2 separate regions of the Homo sapiens genome follow, and region 2 is linked to region 1. The links are contacts of gene promoters, found by promoter capture Hi-C in blood cells and fetal thymus (Javierre and others, 2016). All regions are on one chromosome and are shown on one strand. The core of a region is centred on a gene start or on the middle of the fragment in contact, and the rest is flanking DNA. Distances in the headings are between cores, read along the strand shown. Region 1 holds the start of MRPS18A (mitochondrial ribosomal protein S18A). Region 2 overlaps LOC105375070 (a long non-coding RNA gene).

Region 1 (6,232 bases), core at 1,092-3,591:
CGTCCCTCGCCTCTACCCCCCAGATGCCAGTAGTACCAGTTGTGACAACCAAAAATGTCTGCAGACATGGCCAATTGTTACTGGGGGACAAAATTGCCCCCCAGTTGAAAATCACTGTTTTAGACTGAAAGTCTTCATAGACAGGAAAATTGGTGCTCAGTCCTCAAGAGCTGACTAAAATTATGTATTATTATCTGATACTTTGAAAAGTAGGATGCCTGAATATTTTCAGCAAGAGAACCAGCTTCTTTCCCACAACTTTAAATTCTATGTGTACAATATTGTTTGGGTGTCACATATACCAGCTGAGACTAGTCAAAATTAGCTATATGTATAATACTTTATGCCTTACACATAATGCATAGACTAGCAAAAGAAAATGTTTTCATTTACAAGCTTTGAAGATAGGTGATTCTTAAGAATATAGAATATGGTAGTGCCTTCATGTAGAATCATATTAATTCAACCTAACATTTAGATGAAGGACTTCAGAGACCCATTTGATTTACAGTCCATCCTTTTTTACTTTTTTTAAAGAGGTGGGCGTTCTCACTACGTTGCCCAGGTTAGACTCCAATTTCTGGGCTCAAGTGATCCTCCCACCTTGGCCTTCCAAAGTGCTGGGATTAAAGATATGTACCACTGTACCTGGCTTACAGTCCATCATTTCACAAACTCTCCAAAGGAAAAAATTAAGTCTAACTTCAAATATTTGTTGTTAAAACAAAACGATTCCTCTTGCCTTTTTTTCTGGAAGCATAGCAAAATCTGCCTCAACTTTGAATTTCATAAGAATATGCAAATTGTAGCCAATAGTGTTTGACACTTGGTAGACTCCCCAAAATGGTATGGAGATATGCCTATTTTGCAGCATGGGAACAAATGAAACATCCAAGTCCTCTCTATCATCTGCATGATTTCTTTAGTGTCTTTATTAATGGGTCTACTAATGGATAAGTTAATCAGGCAATATCCAGACTTTTTTTTCTAGCAAATGCTCCACTTCCCTTACGGGCTAAATTCTTCAAACATACTTACTATTTCCATCTCTTCATCAACTATCTCTTTCATTTCTCCAAACTGGATTCCTTGTTTGCCACTCTATTGAAATTGCTGTTTGAAAGCTACAAAGAGACCTCTTCTGAGACAAATCCAATGGCCCCTTCATTAGGCCCTTTTTAGACTTTTCTGCTCCCTCTGACAACAATGATCACTCTTTTCCACTGGATACTTCTCAGCTTTCGTTAAAGGATATGCTGCCCAATACTATGCCAGATCCTCAAAAAACCCCACATCTCTTCTTTTGCACATCACTCATCCTTTCCTGCTTCCAGGAGTACACAAAGGAAGGCTATGTCCTAAAAGACCGTTTCACTCTCCGCCAGATTCCATCCTTTTGTGAGCCTGCTCAAGACACATCCTCTTTATGAAAACTTCCAACTGGGTTTGCCGTTTCCAGTAACTGAGTCTCCCTGTACTTCGTCACGTAAAAGGCTAACTTGCATTTATTGGAGTGTGTATATACATAATCTCATTAGAACCTAAGCTTTTCAGAAAAAGGGCTGTATTTTCTGTCTCCAGAATTCCTTCACAGCTTGAAGCATAGCACTTGGCATTCAGTAAACTCTCAGTTGATGCTCGAATCAGGCCGCTTTCCCAGATTAAGATTAATGAAAAGCTGAACTACCATCCTGCATTTGCCTATGTCTCAGCTATTCAATGGCCTTTCCACTTTGGCCTCCCCCTCACAGGGAGACTAGCGGCCCGGGGCAGAGAACGCCGCCATCAGATCACAGCATTTTGAGAAGGGAAAGTGGAAAGGGAGGCTCTGGGAGGGTACCCAGATGGCCTTCCTTCGTGATCCAGAGACTCTTTAATAAAAGAGACTGCGATTCGGAGAACATGGAAGGAAGAATTAACATGCAAACCCTTTCCGAAAACTTTTCTGAGCCCTAGGACAGGTTTAGTGTCTGCTCCTGCTAAGTAAGCAGGCTTTTCTCTCCGTCCTCCTCCGCCTTGTGAAGATACTCACAAGGGGCAGGAGATCAAGATAAGGCACCAGGGTGTGGAAGGGGCTTTTAAGCACGCCTGGGGAGCCGGTACCTCCAAAGTTTCAGAATCGGACGAAGGAAAGGTAGGAAGGAGCGCACCGGGGCTGGCGGAAGCAGTCTCTGCCGCTCTTCTTAATTTCAGGAGGTTGCTGGGACGCATGACTCACCTTCCCTGAACCCGCGAGCTGGAAGCCGAGACCAGCTGGTCGCTGCCGGGCCCGCTAGTAGCCCACGGAGAAGCCGCCCACAGCCGGACACCAGAGCCTTGAGGGCCGCCATCTTCAAAAACCTACCCTGACCTCTCGTCCATTTCCGCTTCCGGAACGTAGCGCCCGCCGCCGCAGTGGTGGGGCAGGAACGGCGGGGCGGGGTTGTAGTTCGCTTGCTCCTGTCACATCATTTCTCTCACCTGTCCGCTTTGGGATACGAAGAGAGGCTTCTGCGTCAAGCCTATATTTCGTGTTAAGGATCTAGGGGAGGTCTTCTAGCTCCTGTCTGCCAATGCCTACAAGTCTTCAAGGTTGCATTCGTTTCCTGGAAGGCTTCCTTAGGAAAATCGCACGCAACACCCCACCTATGTCTTTAAAGCTTTCTCTTCACTGCACGTGAGCTGTGGACTTTTAGCTTCTGTGACTGGGGCTAGACCTCTACGGGAGAGGCTGAAATGGTTAGGAACTCTGGCTCTGGAGTATCGGATATCAGGCAGACCTGGGATAGAATTGATACCCCCTTCTTCCCTGACCACTGCCACACTGATCTTTGATTTGCATATACTTAGACCTCTCTCTAGCCCCAGGGCCTTGATACAAGCTATTTCCTTTGTCTGCTCTTTAGCTGTCTAGTTAGCTTCTGCTTATTTCTTAGAGCTCACCTCAAACCTTATTTCCACAGTTTTGCTTGACTGCCCATTCTCAGCACCAGATGCCTCTCCATCTTAGTGCTTGGGACAATTTCAGTTTTATGTTTGTTTTGTATGTGTCTTCTCACCAGACTGTAAGCTCCATGAAGTCAGGAACATTGTTTTCTGTTGACTCGCACATCTCCAGCACTTAGAATAGTTCCTGACACATAATAAGAGTACAATATATACTTGTTGAATGAATGAGTAGAATCTATTTTATAGGGCCTAGGGGAGGACTAGACCCTGAAGATTAGATGTGATAAAACATAAGTGATCGGCCGGGTGTGGTGGCTCATGCCTGTAATCCCAGCACTTTGGGAGGCTGAGGCGGGTGGATTACCTGAGGTCAGGAGTTCAAGACCAGCCTGACCAACATGGTGAAACCCTATCTACTAAAAATACAAAAATTAGGTGGGTGTGGTGGCGGGCACCTGTAATCCCAGACACTTGGGAGGCTGAGGCAGGAGAATCGCTTGAACCCAGGAGGCGGAGGTTGCAGTGAGCCAAGATCACACCATTGCACTCCAGCCTGGGCGACAAGAGTGAAACTCCGTCTCAAAAACAAAACAAAACAAAACAAAACAAAACAAAAGGGCTCAATAAACATAAGCTAGTTAATAGAGCAGTTATGGAGATGACTCTTTTCACAAGTTGGACTCACTTGTGTTGTAAGGAAGCTTATGGTACCAAAGAGAAAATACAACTGCCAGTTTTTCCTCTTTCAGATTTGTGAGACGTATAGGATGTTCCTCTGGAGCTCCACAGGAAAGGAAAATCATTCACAACTCAGTTCTTCCTATCCTTCTCTGATTCAAGATGGGAAAATCAGGCTTATTAAATGACATAGCATGTTTTCTGATGAGTAGGAGAGGAGCCCATCATCCAGTTGGGACCGTCACCCTAATAGGAGGATGCAGAGCAGCTGCTGTATGGAAAATGTGAGTGGCATCACCATAGACAGGGAGAACAGGAGAAATGCAGCATTGGGTTACGTTAAAACATCTCATTTAGCAAAGGTAAACCCGGTGAAGGGGAAACTTAAAAGAAAAGTCAATCAAGGTGGTAGAGACTGACACATGGATTAGGAGTGAAGCAGAGGGTCTTAGTGAGGTGTAGGTCTAGGTGTCCCAGCCAGGATCAAGAAAGCTTTGACTCTCCCTATAGCTTCCAAGTTTGTTCTGCATAGATGACCTTGAGCTTATAGATGTATAGATGACCTTTTGTGTTTGTACTACATCCTCTGTTTCTTCACCCATTTCCAACTTCCAGGAATCCAGTAGAGACAAGGGCAGCAACAGAGCCCCACCCAGGGCTTGCTTTGGACACAGTGAGCTAAAGCATTCGAGTGCCAACCCTCTTCTCATTATCTTATCTTAACTTATCATAAACAAATTTTATTTTAAAAAACAACTATGACAGGTAACATGTGATCATTGTAGAAAAATGAAACAATAAATAAAGTAAAAAGAAAATAAATGTCATCTAAAATCCAGAGATAAGCATTGTTTACATTTAGCAAGATGAAATAATACTGTGGATATTCTTTGCCTTATAATATCTTATTTTTCTGAATCCATTTATGATTAGTCCCTACAATTCTGTGAGACCAGGTTTGGATCAGGAGACTAGCTTTAAAAAACAACACATCTTTTAATTAAAGTATTACCTGTGTAAGAAAAATACACAGGCTGGGTACAATGGCTCACGCCTGTAATCCCAGCACTTTGGGAGGCCGAGGCAGGTGGATCACTTAAGGTCAGGAGTTCGAGACCAGCCTGGCCAACATGGTGAAACCTCATCTCTGCTAAAAATACAAAAATTAGCTGGGCGTGGTAGGCTCCTGTAATCTCAGTTCCTCAGGAGGCTGAGGCAGGAGAATCACCTGAACCCTGCAGGTGGAGGTTGCGGTGAGCCGAGATCACGCCATTGCACTCCAGCCTGGGCAACAGAGTGAGACTGTCTCAAAAAAAAAAACAAAAAACCCAAACAAACAAACAAACAAAAAACAACAAAACACACAAATCATCAGTGTACTGCTTGATGAATTTTCGCAAAGGGACACACTACCCATACTGGAGTGGAGTGGCATGTTCAAGCAGAACTTGACTGGCACTCTAGAACACCCCATTGTGTCCCCTTCCAGACACTACCCCGCAAGGATAATCATTATCCTGACTTTTAGCACAATACATTACTTTTCCCTGCATTTGACCTTTATATAATATTCCACTGTGAATATACTATATTTTAAAAAATCACTTTTTTTTCTGTTGATAGAATTTAGATACTTGCCACTTGGGACTACTACAAAGAGTGCTGTAACGTTCTTCTACGTGACTCTTGGTGAACACAAGAACAAACTTCTTTGGGGCCTATCTCGCGGTAGAACTGTTAGGTTGCAGGGTATGCCTATGCTCAGCTTTAGTAGAAGATATTGCCTTGACAGTTTTTACAAAAGCCTTTTTAAATTAAATTTTTTTTTTTTGAGACAGAGTCTTGCTCTGTCACCCAGGCTGGAGTGCAGTGGCGTGATCATGGCTCACGGTAGACTGGACTTCTTGGGCACGGGTGATTCTCCCACCTCAGCCTCCTGAGTAGCTGGGACTACAGGTACATGACACTATGCCCGGCTAATTTTCTGTATTTTTTGCAGAGGTGGGGTTTTCCCATGTTGCCCAGGCTGGTCTTAAACTCCTGGGCTCAAGCAATCTGCCTGTCTCAGCCTCCCAAACTGCTGAGATTACAGGCACGAGTCACCATGTCTGGCCCAAAGGCCAGGCTAGATACTGTCAAACAATTTTCCATAATGATTGTACCAGTTTACTCTGGTATCAACTGTGTGTGACAGTTCTAATTGCTCCACACCTTGTCAATATTTGATTTTTTTTTTTGGTATTTTTAATCTTGCCATTCTGGTTGGCGTGTAGTAGGATCTCACTGTGTATTTATCTTACATTTCTCTGATGCTTAATGAAGATGAGTAACTTTTCATATGTTCATAGACCATTTATTTATATTTATTTATTTATTTATTTATTTTTGAGACAGAGTCTCACTCTGTCCCACAGGCTGGAGTGCAATGGTGCGATCTTGGCTCACTGCAACCTCCGCCCCCCAGGTTCAAGTGATTCTTCTGCCTCAGCCTCCCGAGTAGCTGGGATTACAGGTGCACCCCACCATGTCCAGCTAATTTTTGTATTTTTAGTACAGACAGAGTCTCACCATGTTGGACAGGCTGGTATGGATCTCCTGACCTCCAATTATTCACCTGCCTCGGCCT
Region 2 (5,775 bases), core at 1,608-4,107, 130 kb after region 1:
CTGTGCCTGGCTAATTTTTTGGTATTTTTTGTAGAGATGGGGTCTTGCTATATTGCCCAGGCTGGCCTTGAACTCCTGCCTCAAGCGATCCCCCCACTTCAGCCCCTCAAAGTGCTGAGCCATTGGCTTCGGCACTCTGTTCACGAAGAGGCATGAGCCACTGCACCTGGCAAGGGCAGGGATTTTGTCTGTCTTGTTCATGATTGTCTTCCCAAGACATGACCTAGAATAATGCCTGGCATTAGAAGGTGCTGAATAAATATTTTTAGTATAAGTGAAAGGGAAAGTATTTCTGAGAAAATGGCATTTAAGTAGAGGCCTGCAGGATGAGTAGGCGTTAACGAGCCAGGAAGGGGTGAGGACTGTGCTAAGCTGCAGGGACAGTGTGTACAAAGGTCCTGAAGTGCGAAGGAGCAGAGTGCATTCTGAGGAACTGACAGGTGGCGGGTGCAGCTGTGTATGTGTGTGTGTGTGTGTGTGTGTGTGTGTGTGTGTATGGCTTTCTCAGTCATTCGAAGGAGGTTTGAAAGTTGCCAGAGAGTTTTAAGCAAAGGAGTGACATGATTACAGTCATGTTTTAAAACATCCCTCTTGCTGCTGGAGGAGGCTGGATTCTGGGGCGGGGGTGAGAGTGAAAGCAGCAGGGCCAGGTAGGGATCTCAGGCGAGAGAGGGTGATGGCTTGGTCCAGGGCAGCTTCTATGAGGCTGGAGCTCCAAGGATAATCAGGAGTTTTTCAGCAGGAGACTTGGCAGGGTTTTGGTGATGGGCGAGGTGTAGAAGGAGTTCGGAAGGGAAGGAGAGGGAGCTGCTGGGGATGATTCCGAGATTTCTGAGTTGCTTAATTGGCTGGATGGTGAGACCATTTATGGGAATGGAGAATTGATACTTGCTAACGACAGGCACTTTACTGGCTGCTTCGCTCGCCCGGTAATCTTCACGGTCCTCTGAGGTGGGGCAGATGAAAATCCACAAGGAAACAGGGGCTCAGTGATAAAGCCTTTGCTGCAGGACTTACAATTGGTGCGGTGAGGCCCTCCTATCCAATACCATCAAGGCTTGTAGTTGGTTAGTTTGACAAATGATCATAAAGAAAGAAAACCTGTACAATGTAAAGATTTCATTTTAATTGGAGCCCTATGGATGTGCTAACATGTGCCAGCATTTTGATGTATGAATGAAGCCTTCCCCTGGGCACAGGCCCTCCTGTGCCATGAATGGTCTTCTGGCATAAACTAACCCATTATATTCACTTCTTTGGGTTCTGGTTTTGGTTTATTTAAAGTGGAGTGAGAACTTCCTGGCTCTTAAGAACCAATCAAGGGTAGATTCCTTCCAGAATAGGCCCTCCACCCTGCCCGCCAGCACCATTCTTTATAGTCTGTCTCTTCTATGCCTTGCTCAATGGCAATTTTTTCAGCTGTTTCCTGTTACCAAACTCTTCCAAAGTGTTCAACCTGGATTTTTAAGAAAAGAAGAAAACTCTTTCTTTTCACATCATATTTCATTGTTTTGTGTCATATTTTATTAAACTGCATACTTACAATAACAAGCACAACTGGCAAACAGGTTTGGGGACAGAAATAATGGCTTTTGGGACATGCTTGATTTGGCTGGTGGGAGCAGAAATGGGCAGGCACATTGGAGAGCACCCGGCTGGAGCCCTCCATGAGGTGGGCCTCTGTCTGAAGGCTTCACAGGGGGACTGAGGGGTGATGGGTGAGTCCCTAGGCGAGGCCAGTTACCAAATGTCAATGTGGGCGAGTCAGAGAGCTGTCCTTGGGTGATACTTTCTGTGAAGTTTTATAAGAAGCTGAGTTCTGCATTCAGTATTTAGTACACATATTTGGAGCCCCCAGTAATCGATACGAAATGCTATCAGTCTTTAAGTGCTCAACACTGATTAGGTTTTAAAAGTATATTTTGTACCATAAATAATTAGATCTATATTTAATGAGCAGACCTAGGGCACAGGGTGGTGGTTCCTTCTGGAACTTAAGATTTTCCCAAGCCAAGCTCAGGAAAGGCAGGTAGGTATGGCAGTTGGAGTGGGAGTGGCTGACCCAGATGGCCTCTTTGTTAATCAGGTGTCTGTACTTGCCTAGGCCTGGGGCCTGTTCTGAAAGCCAACTTTTTGGCTTCAAGGAAGTTCTATTCCTAAAGAGAGTGAAGGTGAGGTTCTCTGGAACAGCAGAAATCTGGATCCAGATATCAGGGCTAACAGGGTGTGTCCTGTCCTCCAGCCATGGAGGCAGCAGGAGGAGGTGGATGGCGCCTTCTCGATGACCACTTGGCCCAAGGCAACACAGCGGGTGGGGACCTCACCTGTGAGGACTTGCTAGGGCAGAGCATCTGGACTGTTCTCAACTGGCTCTGGGGACCATTTAATCTTTCAGAGGGTGGGGGAAGTGAATGGAAGAAGGAGGGATTGGTTGGAAAAGCTTCAGTGACAGGGCAAACCTGGGCTAAAGGCAACCAGCTGGTCTTGATGGAGTGCACCTGTAGTCCCAGCTACTCAGGAGGCTGAGGTGAGAGAACCACTTAAACCCAGGAGTTCAAGTCCAGCCTGGGCAACATAGTGCAACCCTGTCTCTAAAAAAAAAAAATTTAAAAATTAAAAAAAATTTAAAGTGGACCTGTTCTGTTATTTGTAATCGAGAGGGAAGGGAAGTCATCAGTTTAATTCCTTCGAACCATAATTTATTGAGTCATTGTGTTAGGCTCTGGGAATACTAAGAAAAATAAGACACCATTCCTGCCCTCAAGGAGTCTAGTCATGGAGGCAGATACCAAGATTGTTTTTATGACAGCCCACATCAGTTGGGAATATATTTGGTATCAAGCAACAGAATACCCAACAGACAGTGGCTTGAGCAATAAAGACATTGATCAATATCACATCACTGGAAGTCTGGAGGCAGAGGGTTCCAGCTTTGGTGAAAGGATGACATCAATGATGCTATCAAAACTCAGCCTTTTTCTATCCTTCTGCTCTGCCATCTTCAACGTGTTAATTTTTGTCTCCATGCTTGTTGCCTCCTGGTCACAAGATGGCTGCTATGGTGACTCCTATAATTATATTCAAGGCAGAAAAGAAAAAAGCCAAGGAGAGAAAGGGGCTCTATTTTTATCAGGGAAGAAACGTGTTTCCCAGATACCCCCTCTGAAAATGACCTCTCATGTATCATTGGGCACAACTGAGAGGAAATGCTTCAGGGAGGCTGGGAAACTGAGGGACTAGCAAATAGGAACAGGATGCTGGTGATGTCTTAGATGAAGCTTGACTCATCTTCTGGGCCTAGATACATTGTCACCCGAAAAGGTGAGGTTCTGGTGGCAAGGAAGAAAGGGTGGAGCAGAATCACTGTTAGGTAGGATGAGCAGTGCCTGCCTTGTGTGGTAAGAGCTAGGATAGGCTCAGGATGCAAAGAGAAACCAGAGGAGCAGAGTTGGCCTAACTTGGGGGCTCAGGGAAGGGTTCCTGGAAAAGGTGGCTCCTGAGTGAGTTTTAGAGCAGCTGTATCAAGAACAGTTGCAACGTCATCCTAGGTAGATTGACAGCAGGAGCAGAAGCAGAAATAGACATGTGAAATAACCTAGTATGTCCAGGAAAGTGAGCACAATTAGATATTTAGTTAAGTGATGGGGAGAGAGAGAGACAGAGAGAGAGAGAGAGGAGGTGCAGGTGGAGAGGGGAAGAAACCAGGCCACGGTGGGCTTTGAAAGTCATGCTGTCAACCTTGTCTAACCAATTTATCCTGGCTTCTGCCAGTGCAGGGGCAGGGCTGGCTGTGCAATTTAGAAATATTACTCAATGCTGGTACAGAGATTGGGTGGGTGGGAGAGGCCGTGAGAAGCTCAGAGTGCAGCAGGGAGACCAGCAAGGAGGTTCTTGCAGCCATCCAGATGAGAGCTGTGGAGGGCCTGGAACAGACTTGGGCCTGGAACAGACTTTCCAAAGTCAGACTGCCAATATTTCAGCAAAAAGACAGGCAGGGTTCCATGCCACGAATCTCTGGGTGGGATAGCTGTCTCAAGAGGGCTGGGAAGCTCTCAAAAATGTACATGACACTGTGCAATCCCACACAGGGTAGTCTGCGTCCCAGTAATGAAGGAAGAAGGGAGGTGACCACAGAAATCAGTGTGTGGCAGGAGAGCTCTTTGCCAAATTGCTGTGTTAAGGAGGCTTGAACAGAGAAGGGAAGGACAGATGTGAGACAGGACTACGGGCCTGTAAAGAGAGTTTCTGGAAGATAAAAATAGGTAGAGGTTTGTGAAAGATGCTAGGGGCAACCCAGGCTTGTTTAGCTGTGATCATAGCCAGTCAAGATCAAGGGATCCAGAGGCTGCAGTTGGGCCTGATGACACAGCACGGGTGGGGAGTGTACGAAGAGTAGGGCTCCTTGCTGCCCCCTGGCAGGAGAGCAGCCTGCAAACCCAGAGGGCAGCAGTAGATGACACAGAGGCCCAGGGAGCCCTGGAGGTGGGATGGGCCCTCCCCTCTCCACTGCTGCTGGGGTGTTCAAAGGGCCTCTCCCCATAAAACAACACTTGGGGCACAAAGGAAGCTTGTGAACCAGACTGCTGGGGCCACTTTGTCCCACCTGAGAAAGCCAAGAGCACGGGGGCCTTGAGAAGGGAAAAACGTGGTTCTGAGTTTTAAAAAGAGTCCTGGGCAAGGATCCTTGTGGATTATGGAAGGAGTAGTTAGTGAGCATTAGAAAAGTGGGAAGCTTCTGGATAGCTGGAAACATGGCCGTTCCTGGAGGGCGGTGCGCCCAGGGAGGGCATGGAAGCTCCACGTCCTTCCTGCATACCTTGTCTTACGCATCTGTTCATTGTATCCTTGGTACCCCATGTCTGAAGGACATAAAATGATCTTGACACCTGAAACATCCATGCTGTCCCGGGTGATGTCAGAAAAACACTCTAATGAGGACAGCAGTGCCCAGGAGGGTTCCATAATAAAATGGAAATGGCTTATACAGAATCATGCAACCTGAGGAATGTAAGGAGGAGATATGAGCAGGGAGCCTCATTACACCCTAGGACTGACTGTGGAACTGTGTGAGGAGCTGTGGATCCTACAGTGCTCTCAACTGACCAGCAAATAGCTGCTTGGTTTGTGGATGGCAGTTCCAAGGTAAATGGACAACCTCCTGTTTGGAAGGCTGCTACTATGATCCAAGAAGGTAAAAACTAATCAGCTTGGTGGGCTGAATCACATGCTGCTTTCCTAACAGCGATGGAAGAATTGAACGATGCCAGAAGCCCCTGTGGTTGGGTTTTTACCGACTCATGGGCATTGGCCAATGGCCTGGCCAGATGGTTAGGCAGAAGGGCAATAGAAACCTGGCTTATTGAAGAAATGCCCTTACGGGGCATGGCCCTGTGGAAATCTGAGGGGTGCCTTAAAGTAGAACATGTCAACGCCCACTAAGAAAGCCCCTCTCCATGTTTGCAAGGTGACTGGAATTGACAAGCAGATATCTCTGTTTCTTTGAGGTGTTCACCTGGGTCCTTGAAATGAGCAGAGATGGGGGTGCAGAGAAGGGCTGGATCTAGACATGTTCCTTTTGTACCCTCTCCGGCACAAACTGCTAATAAGACTGTTCTGTTTGTCAGCAAGAGAGCCAGAGACTGCCAATGGCTATGTGGCCATTTCCCTGGTGGGAAGGCCCTAAAGAAAGCTGGCAAGTGAGTGGTACCCTGAGGGGCTACAAGTGGGTCTTGACAGAAATAGACACTGGCTCTGGAGTGGACTTTGCTTACCTGG

What was found. The method cuts DNA at HindIII sites, captures the fragments that hold promoters and counts their contacts. A CHiCAGO score of 5 or more calls a contact.
Region 2: a contact is called between a fragment that was not itself captured here and the fragment with the promoter of MRPS18A in region 1, in 1 of 17 cell types (monocytes). The highest score is 5.3, in monocytes.

What each region holds. Positions count from the first base shown.
Region 1 is chr6:43,685,450-43,691,681 of GRCh38, forward strand. It overlaps MRPS18A (mitochondrial ribosomal protein S18A), which reads right to left and starts at 2,342. Exons shown (of 6, transcript NM_018135.4): 1 at 2,219-2,342. The coding sequence starts at 2,330. It overlaps LOC124901320 (a long non-coding RNA gene), which reads left to right and starts at 3,513. Exons shown (of 2, transcript XR_007059586.1): 1 at 3,513-3,890; 2 at 4,222-4,444. RefSeq lists enhancers at 2,096-2,155, 2,101-2,712. The HindIII fragment of the contact is 1,093 bases long and covers 1,545-2,637 here.
Region 2 is chr6:43,812,969-43,818,743 of GRCh38, forward strand. The region is part of intron 1 of LOC105375070 (a long non-coding RNA gene); the gene reads left to right. Among named protein-coding and RNA genes, the nearest start is that of LINC02537, 36 kb to the right of the region's middle. RefSeq lists enhancers at 4,136-4,185, 4,306-4,365. The HindIII fragment of the contact is 838 bases long and covers 2,439-3,276 here.